Regions from separate parts of the Homo sapiens genome. Here all the other regions are linked to region 3. The links are contacts of gene promoters, found by promoter capture Hi-C in human tissues and cell types (Jung and others, 2019). All regions are on one chromosome and are shown on one strand. The core of a region is centred on a gene start or on the middle of the fragment in contact, and the rest is flanking DNA. Distances in the headings are between cores, read along the strand shown. Region 1 has its middle 97 kb from the start of FAM180A. Region 2 has its middle 73 kb from the start of FAM180A. Region 3 holds the start of FAM180A (family with sequence similarity 180 member A).

The links. The method cuts DNA at HindIII sites, captures the fragments that hold promoters and counts their contacts. A contact is called where the count stands out against the background at its distance.
Region 1: a contact is called between a fragment that was not itself captured here and the fragment with the promoter of FAM180A in region 3, in 3 of the 25 tissues and cell types used here (adrenal gland, bladder and ovary).
Region 2: a fragment that was not itself captured here is called in contact with the fragment with the promoter of FAM180A in region 3 in 4 of the 25 tissues and cell types used here (H1 embryonic stem cells, heart left ventricle, liver and 1 more).

Annotation. Positions count from the first base shown.
Region 1 is chr7:135,843,510-135,847,655 of GRCh38, forward strand. No RefSeq gene overlaps it. Among named protein-coding and RNA genes, the nearest start is that of FAM180A, 97 kb to the left of the region's middle. RefSeq lists a silencer at 3,032-3,184. The HindIII fragment of the contact is 4,493 bases long and covers 1-4,146 here.
Region 2 is chr7:135,820,078-135,824,224 of GRCh38, forward strand. No RefSeq gene overlaps it. Among named protein-coding and RNA genes, the nearest start is that of FAM180A, 73 kb to the left of the region's middle. The HindIII fragment of the contact is 7,079 bases long and covers 1-4,147 here.
Region 3 is chr7:135,746,757-135,750,840 of GRCh38, forward strand. FAM180A (family with sequence similarity 180 member A) reads right to left here and starts at 2,057. Exons shown (of 4, transcript NM_205855.4): 1 at 1,749-2,057. The coding sequence starts at 1,824. The HindIII fragment of the contact is 9,123 bases long and covers 1-4,084 here.

The DNA of each region.
Region 1 (4,146 bases), core at 963-3,462, 97 kb after region 3:
GAATGAAATTTTTCTTTTTCTTTTTTTTTGAGACGGAGTCTCGCTCTGTCACTCAGGCTGGAGTGCAGTGGCACGATCTTGGCTCAATGCAAGTTCTGCCTCCCGGGTTCACGCCATTCTCCTGCCTCAGCCTCCCGAGTAGCTGGGACTACAGGCGCCCACGACCACGCCCGGCTAATTTTTTGTATTTTTTAGTAAAGACAGGGTTTCACCGTGTTAGCCAGGATGGTCTCTATCTCCTGACCTCGTGATCCGCCCGCCTCGGCCTTCCAAAGTGCTGGGATTACAGGTGTGAGCCACTGCGCCCGCCCGAGAATGAAATTTTTCTATGTCACAAACCTCTATATCTATTGAATGGCAAGGGCAACTGGGACTCTGTTTAGTTGGTATCATGTATGAGCAAATGCTATAACAGCTCCTTTAACTAGAGAGATAAAATTACAAGAATGGAAACTAATATTTTGATGGCAATACAAGGCCGGGGGAGAGGGAAGAGAAATAGAAAGTGAAGCATGAGAAATTCTCTCAAGGCCAGGCGTGGTGGCTCACGCCTGTAATCCCAGCACTTTGGGAGGCTGAGGTGCGTGGATCATTTGAGGAGTTCAAGACCAGCCTGGCCAACATGGTCAAACCCCGTCTCTACTAAAAATACAAAAAAAATTAGCCAGGTGCTGCACACCTGTAATCCCAGCTACTTGGGAGGCTGAGGCAGGAGAATTGCTTGAGCCTGGGAGGCGGATGTTGCAGTGAGCCAAGATAGCGCCGCCACACTCCAGTCTGGGCGACAGAGTGAGACCCTATCTCAAAAAAACAAAAACAACAAAAAACCCCCCCAAAACCAAATTTTCTCAAAACTAAACTGCTATTCACAATCAAAGGAAATTAGTAGAAATTTATGAGCTACAGTTTTAAGCAGGGAACCCTTCTTAGCATTCGCTAAGATAAATCATGTGGATGAACTCGAATAAACCTAAATGACAGGCCAGTCTTATTGTTACTGAGCCATGGGCTTTCCTCTTAACGTGCATAGAAGCCAATACTATGGCACAGGCTTTTGAGAAAAGAAAAAGCTTTATTGCAAGGTCAACTGGCAAGGAAATTGGAGGCAACACTTAAATTCGTCTCCCCAAGCTGGGGCCTGAGAGCAGGTTTTACACACAGGGAATAACAATCAGAGACATAGGAAAATGCAACGAGGCATGATCTGATTGGGCCATGCAAAGAGGTGGTGAGGTGTCCTTGCCTTTTAAGTCTGTAATGCAGCAAAACAGGGTGCCCTTCTCTTCTTAATTTGATCCTCCTTCTTCAATCTGAGTTCTTAGGTTCCATATGTGGTTGATGTTTTCACTCTGGCCACCTACAGGGTCACGAATTGGGCAGGCTTGGTTCATCTGGGTGTGCTCAGGTTATGTGACTTGAAAGCTGGAGGTCCACTGCAACTGAAAGCAACTCCTCATTTTGTTACATTTTGTGACTGATAGAGCTCAATCCCATTGGACCGATTCTGTTATTACATTATTAATATTGACTCTTAAAATGAGCACTTCTGCTGAGGATGGTCACCTTACGTTGTCCCCTCGATCTTTCAGTGATTTTTCATGGAGTTATGTGGTATTATTTACTGGGCCACTGAGAAGCCATTTTGAATACTTGGGAGAGTGAAAAGTAATTTCTAAAGCGGAACTTGGGTTTTACTTCAGAACTCCCAGTCCTAGTCTTGTCACATTGGAAAGATCAGTGGGGTGGGACCCTGGCATTGTGATATTGAATGTATGTATATGATCTGAACGCAATTTTCTTCAAAGGGATCAAAATCTTCCATCTGAAAAAAGTGAAATGTGGTCTAGTGACTTTTTTCAGAGTCAGTATCTATCAGGGCAAAATCTTGAAGACAGTTGGGAATAAAGGAAACAAAACAGATTTCCTCAGTAAGATTCAAAGCTTTTAAACTGCGATCTGCTTAAAATGTCCTGTGCTAATTATTGCCCGGATTTGTTCAGCTGAGAAGCTTCTGAAGTTGGCTTGCTTGAGTGCGAGGTGCTCCATTTTAATGTTGCAAAACCTCCTCAGTAACCACAAAGGCAACTGTTTATCTCAATCTTCACTTAAAACACCTGCTTACTGATACTTGATTATGTGTTTTGAGGCTTGTGATTGAGAGCCTAACACCTGGCTGATTAGACTGATGTTTGATCATGTTTTGAAAAGCAATTTTACTACTTAGCAAGCAGTTCTATGCTGCAGTGCATTAACTGGATTGAATGTCCAAAACTCTTAGTATTGTTTTTAAAAAATAACCATTACAGAATAATAGCTTGTTTTCATTAAGGAGGAAATGAACATACAAATTCTTACACTATTATGTAAGTGTATGATGCAACCCATTGTCCATTAAGTCAGTAGGTTTCAAAGTGTGGTACAAGGAGAACCTGCATGGAATTCCTACAACAGATATCTTGAATTAGAATCTGTGGTGGTGGGGCCCATGATTGACATTATGAGCTAATTCCCTATGTGGAGAAATGCTACTTTAAGGGAAGACAACTTTCACCTGGATCCTGAAATAGACCAGGTAGCTTTCTGGGTAGAAACTTACAGCTCGGATCTGTGAAATCAGTCTGCGCTGAGAGTCGAGAGGCTTTCTGTCTTTTCTTCAGAGACCACTGTGCAGGTATGTGAGATCTTGTGTCATGGCTGGCTGGGTAGTGAACCCCTCTCCAAGAGCCTAGGAGGTGAGTGAGTTAGGCACCCAAGGTGGTGACAGGCACCCACTTTCCCCCTCTTCATTTTACAAATGAGAAAATTGAGGCCCAGACAATGGAAAGGATGGATAGAAGGTAGCGGAATGTGGAGTTGAGGCCAGATCCCCTGTCTCATCGTCCTCACTTATTGCTCTTGAGCCAAGTCACCAAAGGAAGAACTCTTTAGAAGGTGGGGCCCCAGGATGTCTACTTTGGGTCCCTCCAGGGCCGCTCTCTGCTCTTTTCCCCTGTGCTGTGCTCAGGAGGCCGGCCTGCTGGAACTACAGCCAAGAGCTCCCTGCCCTCTGGCGTCTGGGTGGATTTGGCCAGTGGGAGGCACCACTGGGGGACAGGAAGAAGGAGCCCATGAGAGTGAGCTCACCTGAAGGTACCACATGGGTTTGGTGACAGGAATAGCATGACTAACTGTAATAGCCAGGGTTCTCATGAGAAGCAGAGACAAGAGGATATGCATATATGAGACTTATTGTGAATTGGCTTGATTATGGAGACTATGAATTCCTATATCTGCCACCTGCAAGCTGGAGACCCAGGACAGCCAGTGGTGTAATGCCGTCTAAGACCTTAGGCCTGAGAGCCAAGGGGCAGATGGTGTGCATCCTGGTGCAAGGGCAGGAGAAGGATGTCCCAGCTCAGGCAGGTGGGCAGGAAGCAATAGGGGCAAATTTCTCTTTCCTCTGCCTTTTGTCCTATTTTGGCCCTTAACAGATTGGATGACTCCCACCCACCGTGGGGAAGGCCCATTTGCTTTATTGAGTTCACACATTCAAACAGTAACCTCATCCCGGAACCCCCTCACAGACACACCTAGAAATAATGTTTAATCTGGGCGCTGTTGGCCCAGCCAAGCTGACACATAAAATTAACCATCATAAGTCCACCCCTTGTCAACTTGGCATCCATCGCATCTCCTTAAACCATACTTAATACCCAAATAAAGACAATATCAAAGGCCATCATTCCATCTAACATGATACACACCCATCCTGTGTACAACTGAAAATGCACTAACCCCTTCCCCAGAAGAGGAGGAAAAGTCCTCGTGTGATGTTTCCTCCCCTCCCTATATCCTGTAACTTAGAGTCATGTGTCACTTAACAATGGAGATGCATTCTGAGAAATGTGTGAGGTGACTTCATCATGTGTGAGCATCATAGAGTGTACTTACACAAACCTAGATGCTATAGATTACTACACACCTAGGCTCTGGGACAGCCTACTGCTCCTAGGCTACAAACCTGTGCGTCAGGTTATTGTATTGAATACTGTAGGCAACTGTAACCCAGTGAAAAGTATTTGTGTTTCTAAATATTTCTAAATATAGAAATAGTACAGTAAAAATATGGCATAAAAGATTTTTTTTTGTTTACCTTCAACAATTTTT
Region 2 (4,147 bases), core at 1,555-4,054, 74 kb after region 3:
ATGATTTTATATCTGGTACTTTTGTTAGGTAGTTGTGAACAGGAAATGCTGTTTTGGCTGGGATGGATGATACCTTGGAGATCCTACAATTTTTTCCACTTAAGCTCACCTCCAAGGACAGATCTGAATTAAACTTCCCAATTGACAGTGGCATTGGAGATTTGTGACATCATCATCAGAAACTGTCTATTAAGCCTCTCCCTCCAATGAGCAAGCCCGAGCAAGTTTTACAGAGTCCCAGACCGTGCCGAAGACCCTGCCTTCAAAGCATTTAGTAGAAGAGGTAACACACAGACAGACAAGTACAATAAAAATTTAAAGATTTATACCTGCTGTGAGAGAAGTAATAAAGCTTGGTTGAATTCTTGGGTTTATTATGTAAGTCAGACTACATGTCTTTTTGGGCACCATGATATTCACAATTGTGTCCAAGTTAAGGGCTCATGCATTTTAGAGATGGGAATGAGGGATGGTTCATAAAGTGGAACCAGGGAGAGCAGATGTAGAAACCTTATGTCTGGGATTACCAGGGTTCTTGAAGGCTGTAGATCTTCTCATTTCCTTAGTCAACAAGTAACTCCATATAGAAGCCTGGCCTACTGCTAGTTCTCGGGCTATCATGAGCAAGAAGGCAACCAAATCTGTGTGAATAATGGGAAACCCAATTGAATGGTGTTTTTTGAGATGTTTCTGTTTGTGTTTCAACACCAAATGTTGAAAGCAGAAAGTTGGTTTTGTTTTGCTAGAGCTGCTGAAGCCAGGAGATGTGGAGTTGCGAGTTCCCTGCCATGTTCTGGCTAATGGCCAGCAATGAGGAAGGAACGTTTGGGGCACTGCTGGTGGGCGTCAGCACATGGACTGACTCCGCACAGGCATGCTTAGAGCAGCCCTCTCTATGCCTGACCCCTGCCTCTGTTTCTCAACAGGCACAGCCTTTGTCATCAGAGTGCTCAGCCCCATCTCTACTGGGACCCTCATTCATCTAATTGTCCCGGTCAGAAATCTTGTATGGTCTTTGATTTCTTCCTCTTCCATGTCACCCAGATATCTCAAATACATCCACTCCCTTCCATCTCTGCTGCTAATGCAGAATTCCAGACAGCAACATTTCTCAGCAGGACGACCACACCAGCTGCTTACTTGTCTCCTGCTTTCTCTCCAGTTCCTTCAGTTTATTTTTTCTCCTCAGAGTAGCCTAGATATTTTTTAAAAAAGATAAATTATACCATATGATGCTCCTTCTTAAAACTCTTCAATGGTGTTCCATTACATGTTGGAAAAAAGTCCAGATCTCATAGTATGGCTATCAGGGTCCTCCCTTATCCAGGCCCTGCCCACCTTCCCAACCCCATCTCCCCTGATCCAGTCCGTGCCCACCTTTCCAATTCCATCTTGTTCTATTCCCCCCCATCTCACTCATGTCGCTTGGGCCACTCTGGCTGCTTTGTATTCCTTAAATTCATGCAACACTTCTCATACCTGGTCTTCTGACACATTGTTCCCTCTGCATGGGACACTTTTCCTCCTGAATGCTTGCATGGCTGGCCTATTTTTATAATTCAGGATTTGCCTTAAATGTTTCCTCCTCAGCAAGGCCTTCCCTGAGTGATCTCCTCCTCTTGGCTCCATCACTGTGCTTTGTTTCTCCCTGGCACTTAGCGTGCATTGAAATCACACATACATTTGTTGATGTTCTTGTTGAATGCCTGTCTGCTCTCTGCACTGAAGTTCAGTGAGGAAAGGGCTATGTTAGTTTTGCTCAGCATTAGTTTACTTTGGGACTCCTAGCATAATGCCTTAAAGATGTGTTTTATAAATATTTATTGAATAAATAAATGTTTATTTCAATCAGGTTCTATTGTCCTTTTGTGTGGAGGCTAGCCCAGCTTGCTAAATGCTTGTGCCCAGGCGTGAGTGACTATTAAACAGAAAACAAAAAATATAGTTTTTTAAAATTAGTTTTTTATTTCAATAGTTTTTGGGGTACAGGTGGTTTTTGGTTGCATGGAAATGTTCTTTAGTGGTGATTTCTGAGATTTTATGCACCTGTCACCCGAGCAGTGTATACCATACCCCATATATATAGTCTTTTATCCCTCACCCCTCTCCCAACCTGTCCCCCACCAAGTCCCCATAGTCCATTATATCACTCTTAAGTCTTTGCGTCCTCATAGCTTAGCTCCCACTTAGAAGTCAGAACATACGATATTTGGTTTCCCATTAAAAGTGTGTTTTGTATTTGGTGACTTTTCCCCTAGTCCCTCTTTGTCTCCGTTAATGAGTGCAGGATATGAGGTAGAAGAGGTCCAGAAGCCATTTGCCTTTCAGACTCTTTAAATGAGGCACAAAAGGAGGTGCTTCTGGGGGTGGAGAAGAAAGAGAACTCGATGTAGCAGGGGTCTGGCATATGGAGAGCAGGCTGGTCCCAGAAGGGATCCTTCTAGGCTCATTAAAGGTAATTTGCTTCCAGACCCTGTGGCCGTCCCCTGTGCAGAAGAATGGCAGACGGCCTGCATCTGGAGAATTCAGAGGACTCCGAGTTAGGCAAATGAGCCACCTGCTCAGTTCCTTCTTTGCAGAGGAAAATGAGTGGCTCCTAGTTGCTGGGGGAAAGAGCAAGGCCGGCAGAGGTTGTATCGGTGTCACTCCCACCCCCAGTGAACTTGCCAGTTAAGCCTTCCTCCACCACATGGACAGTCCCATCACTGGAGACAGAGCCAATCTCACTGACCTCCTTGAATCTCAGCCACAGGTAGAATCTGGTCATCAGCAGCTGCTCATAGGCCCCACTGTGGGCGCCTCTCTATGTCGTTGGCTCCCTAGAGTCACAAGGTCACCATTTCTATGTAAGCTTTGTCAAAGAATGTGACTTCACATAGTCTGAGAGTGGTTGCTGACAGCTGATTTAACAGTGAGATGATGGTGACATACATTTAAATTGGGGGCCCTTAAGCCAGAACTTCTCTCTTATCCCTTAAAGAGAAAATAGGCAAATCACCCACAGAGAATGGCTCTCCCCTCCTGCTGTATCGCAGGGAGTCCTGGGTATACCGATGTCTGTGCTGACCAATGATTTGCCGAATACATGCTTTTACAGTGTGGCTTTGTCTTTGTACTAAAACAATGTCAAACTGTACATTTCAATAACAAGGCATGGATGTGATTTCTGAGCCATCAGTGGAAATGGATGATTGGACAAAATGATGCTATGGGACATCTCTCACCGGGAGAGATTGTGTCCCTATCAGGGCTGATACTTATGGAGAGTCTATGATTCATATTTATGTCAGAAGAATTGAGTCAGGCTGTGCTGTGCTCTGGGAAGATGCAAGAAGTAAGACAAAGGAACAGGAGCCAGTGTTTTTCAAGGTCCTGTGAAGATCCAAAGGTAGTTTTAGGCATTTGATGAAGATTGGCTGAATTTAGTCCGACGAGATTGTTCCTGATCCTCTTGGGGAATCCTACTTCCCATCTGCCTGGCAAGGGAGCAAGAGGCAGAGTGTGGCCAGAAAACTGACTTTTAAAAGGTTGGAGCAAATTGGGTTGGGGAAGCAACACATTCACCTTGGAGATGACTCAAGAAGTTGGGATTCAACATGCTGACCCAGTCATGATCTGCACCAATGGCATAGGCTCTCCTTGGCTTGTGCTCTTGGCTTTGCAGCTGTGTTGCAGCTCCAGCAAGAGTAAAGAAGCTGTAAATATATCCCAGGTACTTCTTTTCCCCTACAACAGAGGTTCTCAAGTGAGCAACCACAGGCTGCAAGGCCGGCCACCCTGTTTCTGATTGAGTATGGCTTAGGATGAGGCCTGAGAATGTGCATTTCTAACAAGCTCCCTACTGATGCTGCTGCTGTGGGTCCAGGGATCTCACTGAGAGCCTCTGCTCTACAGCACCCTGAGAGAAGGAGGCCCAGCTCAGCATTTGCAAAGGGCCAGGTTTCTGTGGGTCGTGTGGAGTTCTTCCAGTTGCTTTCCTCTTCTCACTTCCCCACTCATTACCGAACAGGCTGACGAGCGTAAGGACAACTGCAGATTCTCTTTTCCTTCTGATGCGTTATAATTCAATCCTCTCAGCACTTTTTAGCACATTTTTATTTTCTTCCTTAAAAAAAAAAGGAGGGCTCCAGCGTCCTTGAAGACAGAT
Region 3 (4,084 bases), core at 807-3,306:
GAAAACAGGGTGACTACAGTCAATAACAATTTAATTGTACATTTAAAAAGAACTAAAAGAGGGCCAGGCACTATGGCTCATGCCTATAATCCCAGAACTTTGGGAGGCTGAGGTGGGCAGATCACTTGAGGTCAGGAGTTTGAGAGCAGCCTGGCCAACATGGTGAAACCCCATCTCTACTAAAAATACAAAAATTAGCCAGGCGTGGTGGTGCGCACCTGTAACTCCAGCTACTCAGGAGACTGAGGCACGAGAATCGCTTGAACCTGGGAGGCGGAGGTTGCAGTGAACCAAGATTGCACCCCTGCATTCCAGCCTGGGCAACAGAGTGAGACTCCGTCTCAAAAATAAATAAATAAGTAAATAAATAACAAATAAAAGTAACTAAAAGGGTATCACTGGATTGTTTGTAACACAAAGGCTAAATGCTTGAGGGGATGGATACCCCATCTTCCATGATGTGACGTGCCTGTATCAAAACATCTCATAGGCCCCATAAATATGTATACCTACTATGTGCCCACAGAAATTAAAAATTAAAAATTAAAAAAAGAAAAGGGAGGGGTGTACGTGTGTATGTGCATGTGTATGCAAGGTTGTTATGAGAAAAATGAAGAATGCTGTATTATTTGTTTCTGGGCAACGATCACTTCACAGCTCAGCTCAAAAGACTTATATCCCTGTTAGAGATGTAAGTCCCTAATGTCACGTTTAACCATGAGGAAATAAAACCCAGCATAAGTACAGTAGCTTTTGCCTCCCTCCCATTTCAGATCCTTCTCTCGCGCTGCTCTATCCCCACTCCGGCCACTCCTTCCTTCCCTGACACTGTCCTTGAGAAGCAAGCAGGAGGCGCATCCATGCCACCATGCCAGTTGCCTTCCAATTTTGCATCTCTAGAAACACCTACTGGCCTGACTTGAAGGAGCCTGTTCTTCTTGCGGTTCTTTCTAGGAGAGTGAACTCAGTTGACTTTAGGCAGTGGAAAGATTTCCGTTCATATTGGTGAAGAGTGGGCAGTGCCGTGGGTCCCTCCTTTCCTAACAGTGATAAACTCTGGCTCGAGGTGCTCCCAGTGTCTACCAAGCAGAGCCACTCCCAGGGAAATGGAGAAAAGATGCCATCCAGCTAGGAGGAACTACATCCTGAGGGGGAGGAAGTCAGTGATAAGAGAACAGCCTTTGCTGGGGCCCCTTCCTTTGTGAGGAGGTGGCGGAGCTGGTGGGTGCAGTGGAGGTTGAAGGGTTGCTCTCCTCACCTGCCCACCTCTGGCTGCAGAGATGCATCCCCTCCCGGTGAGGAGGCAACGTTCTGCAGAGCTTCTGCTCTGGTTCCCCCAGGGAGCAGGCCTTTGGCATCCCAGTGCCCATCACTCCATCATTTTAGCAGCAGGTCTCAGCACCTGCTCTCCAGACGGTCTGGCCCAACTGCTGCAGGTGGTGGGGGCAGTCGAAGAAATGAGTTCTACTTTCTATGAAGCAGAAATGAGTTCTCTCTGGGATGCCAGAAAGGGGTACTCTCTGGGTTCTCCACCTCAACCTAATTCCCTCAGGAGCTTTGATTTTTTCCAGTGTCATTTCCCCATCACCCTCTAAGAAGGGGGAACACGTCAAGAAGCATCAAGGAATTGACAGAGATTAGACAAAAGGAGAGTGCGGGGCTTCTAATGTCCTTCCCTCCAAATTTTGAATTGCATTGAAGAAAGTATAATGAGCATCAAACAAACAAATGAATAAAAAGCAACTCACCCCTGCTCCACCTGTGGCACATAGAAGCCTCAGCATTGTAATACAACAGCAGAAGCAGCAACATCTTCCAATGCATCTTGTCCTTCAAAAGGTGAAAAATCGACCCTCAAGCCCAGTGGAACCCCAGTAGCTGCAGGTATGCCCGTGCCGTTCTTCCCAGTGAGATGATGGAGTGCTTCCCTCCCTTCCTTTTGCAGACGTGCAGAAATGCCTACTCTGCCTCAGAAGGCTGGAGGCTGAAGGCTGCGTCCTGGGTGGGACAGGAGTCGGTACCTCTCTTCATTTGACGCTCTCTGGGATTGGGGAACTGGCCTTCCACAGAGAGACTCTGTTTTTGAGCACATCTGGAGTGACTCACGGGGCATGTGATCTCCTTGGCAGTGGGGCGGATAAATATAATTTCTGTACTTGAGTTCCATGTGTTGGATGCACCCACTGGAATTTTTCTTTAACAAACAGACCCGCGGAACTTGTTAGAGAGCCCGGCGAAGAGTTGGCTGCTCTCCCCGTCCACACATACGATACCAGAGCCAGGGGCGAGGGCTGGAGGCAGAGTTGGGAGCCTGCCTGGCAGACACCAGGGCTGGTTGAGCCTAAGTTGCCTTCAGGACAGCAAAATCATTGTGGTGCCTGGGCTGAGTGTCACTGTTGCCTGGCCCTGGAGCTAGACTAGGACATTGGCGCCTAGAGCCTGTGTCTGGTCTGCCCAGGTTCTGGGTGGGTGGGGAGTTGGCAGGTTGTGACCGAGCCGAAGTGGAGAGGTGACATGGTGCATCGGTATTGTCTGTGTGAACGTGCGTAGGTAATGATCCAGGAGCCCACGGGGACCCCCAACTCACATTGGTGATGCTCCCATTTCTGGGCTGTGCCTAGACCTGGGGCCAAGCCCCACAACTCACATTGGTGATGCTCCCATTTCTGGGCTGTGCCTAGACCTGGGGCCAAGCCACTTTGATTTTCCCAAGCAAAATGGGAGTGTTTTTCCATAGTCGTTGTAATATACTGCCATAGACACCTTAATTCTTTCCCAATCACTTCCTCAACTTCTCTGAAATGATAGGGAATGCTAAAGCTTGAAGGACACTTAAAGATTATGTCATCCTGTGGGTTTTCCAGTTTGTGGAGGTGGTGCCCAGGGTGAATGGGCTCCCCAAGAGGGCTCCTCAAAGCTCTACTCTACTGCAAAAGCTCCTCTTTTATCTGCTATAAGAAGTTGTTTGGGAGCCGGGCATGGTGGTTCACGCCTGTAATCCCAACACTTTGGGAGGCCGAAGTGGGGGAATTGCTTGAGGCCAGAAGTTCAAGACCAACCTAGAGAAAATAGACCCTGTCTCTACAAAAAATTAAAAAATTAGCTGGGCGTGGTGGCATGTGCCTGTAGTCCTAGTCACTCAGGTGGCTGAGGCAGAAGGATTGTTTAGGCCCAGGAGTTCAAGGCTGCAGTGAGCTATGATCACAACACTCTACTCCAGCCTGGGTGACAGAGTAAGAACTTTCCTCTTAAAAAAATTAAAAAAAAAACAACCAGTTTTTTTGGGGGAAAAAATACTAGACTACAACATTTGAAAACCAGTACGCTCACTAATATTAATAATAGCTATTAGGTGCTTAATTTGCTTCAGACAGCGTGCTAGGTGCCCTCCTTGCATTAACTGATTTAATGCATCCACCGAACTAGGAGGTTAGGGCACTAGCCAGCAGCACTCTCCAACAGAAATGTAACGTGAATCACAAACGTCACTTAACATTTTCTACAACTCATACTAAAAAAAAGTAAAAAGAGGCTGGGTGCAGTGGCTCACGCCTGTAATCCTAGCACTTTGGGAGGCCGAGGCAGGCGGATCACCTGAGGTCAGGAGTTCGTGACCAGCCTGGCCAACATGGCAAAACCTCGTCTCTCCTAAAAATACAAAAATTAGCCGGGCATGGTGGTGCACACCTGTAATCCCAGCTACTCGAGAGGCTGAGGCAGGAGAGTCTCTTGAGCCTGCGAGGTGAAGGTTGTGGTGAGGCGAGATGGTGCCACTGCACTCTAGCCTGGGCAACACGAGTGAAACTCCATCTCAAAAAAATAAAAAATAGAAAAAGTAAAAAGAAACAAGTGCAATGAATAGTAATAATATCTTTCATTTAATTCAATATATCCAAGATATTATCATTTCTACAAGTAAGTGATATAGTATTAGCAAGATATTTTATATATATATATATAATATTTACATGAGGTCTTTGAAATCTAATGTGTATTTCACACTTATAGCACTTCTCAAGTCACACCAGCCCTGTTTCAAGTACCTGATAGCTCCATGCAGCCAGTGGCTCCTGTATCGGGCAGT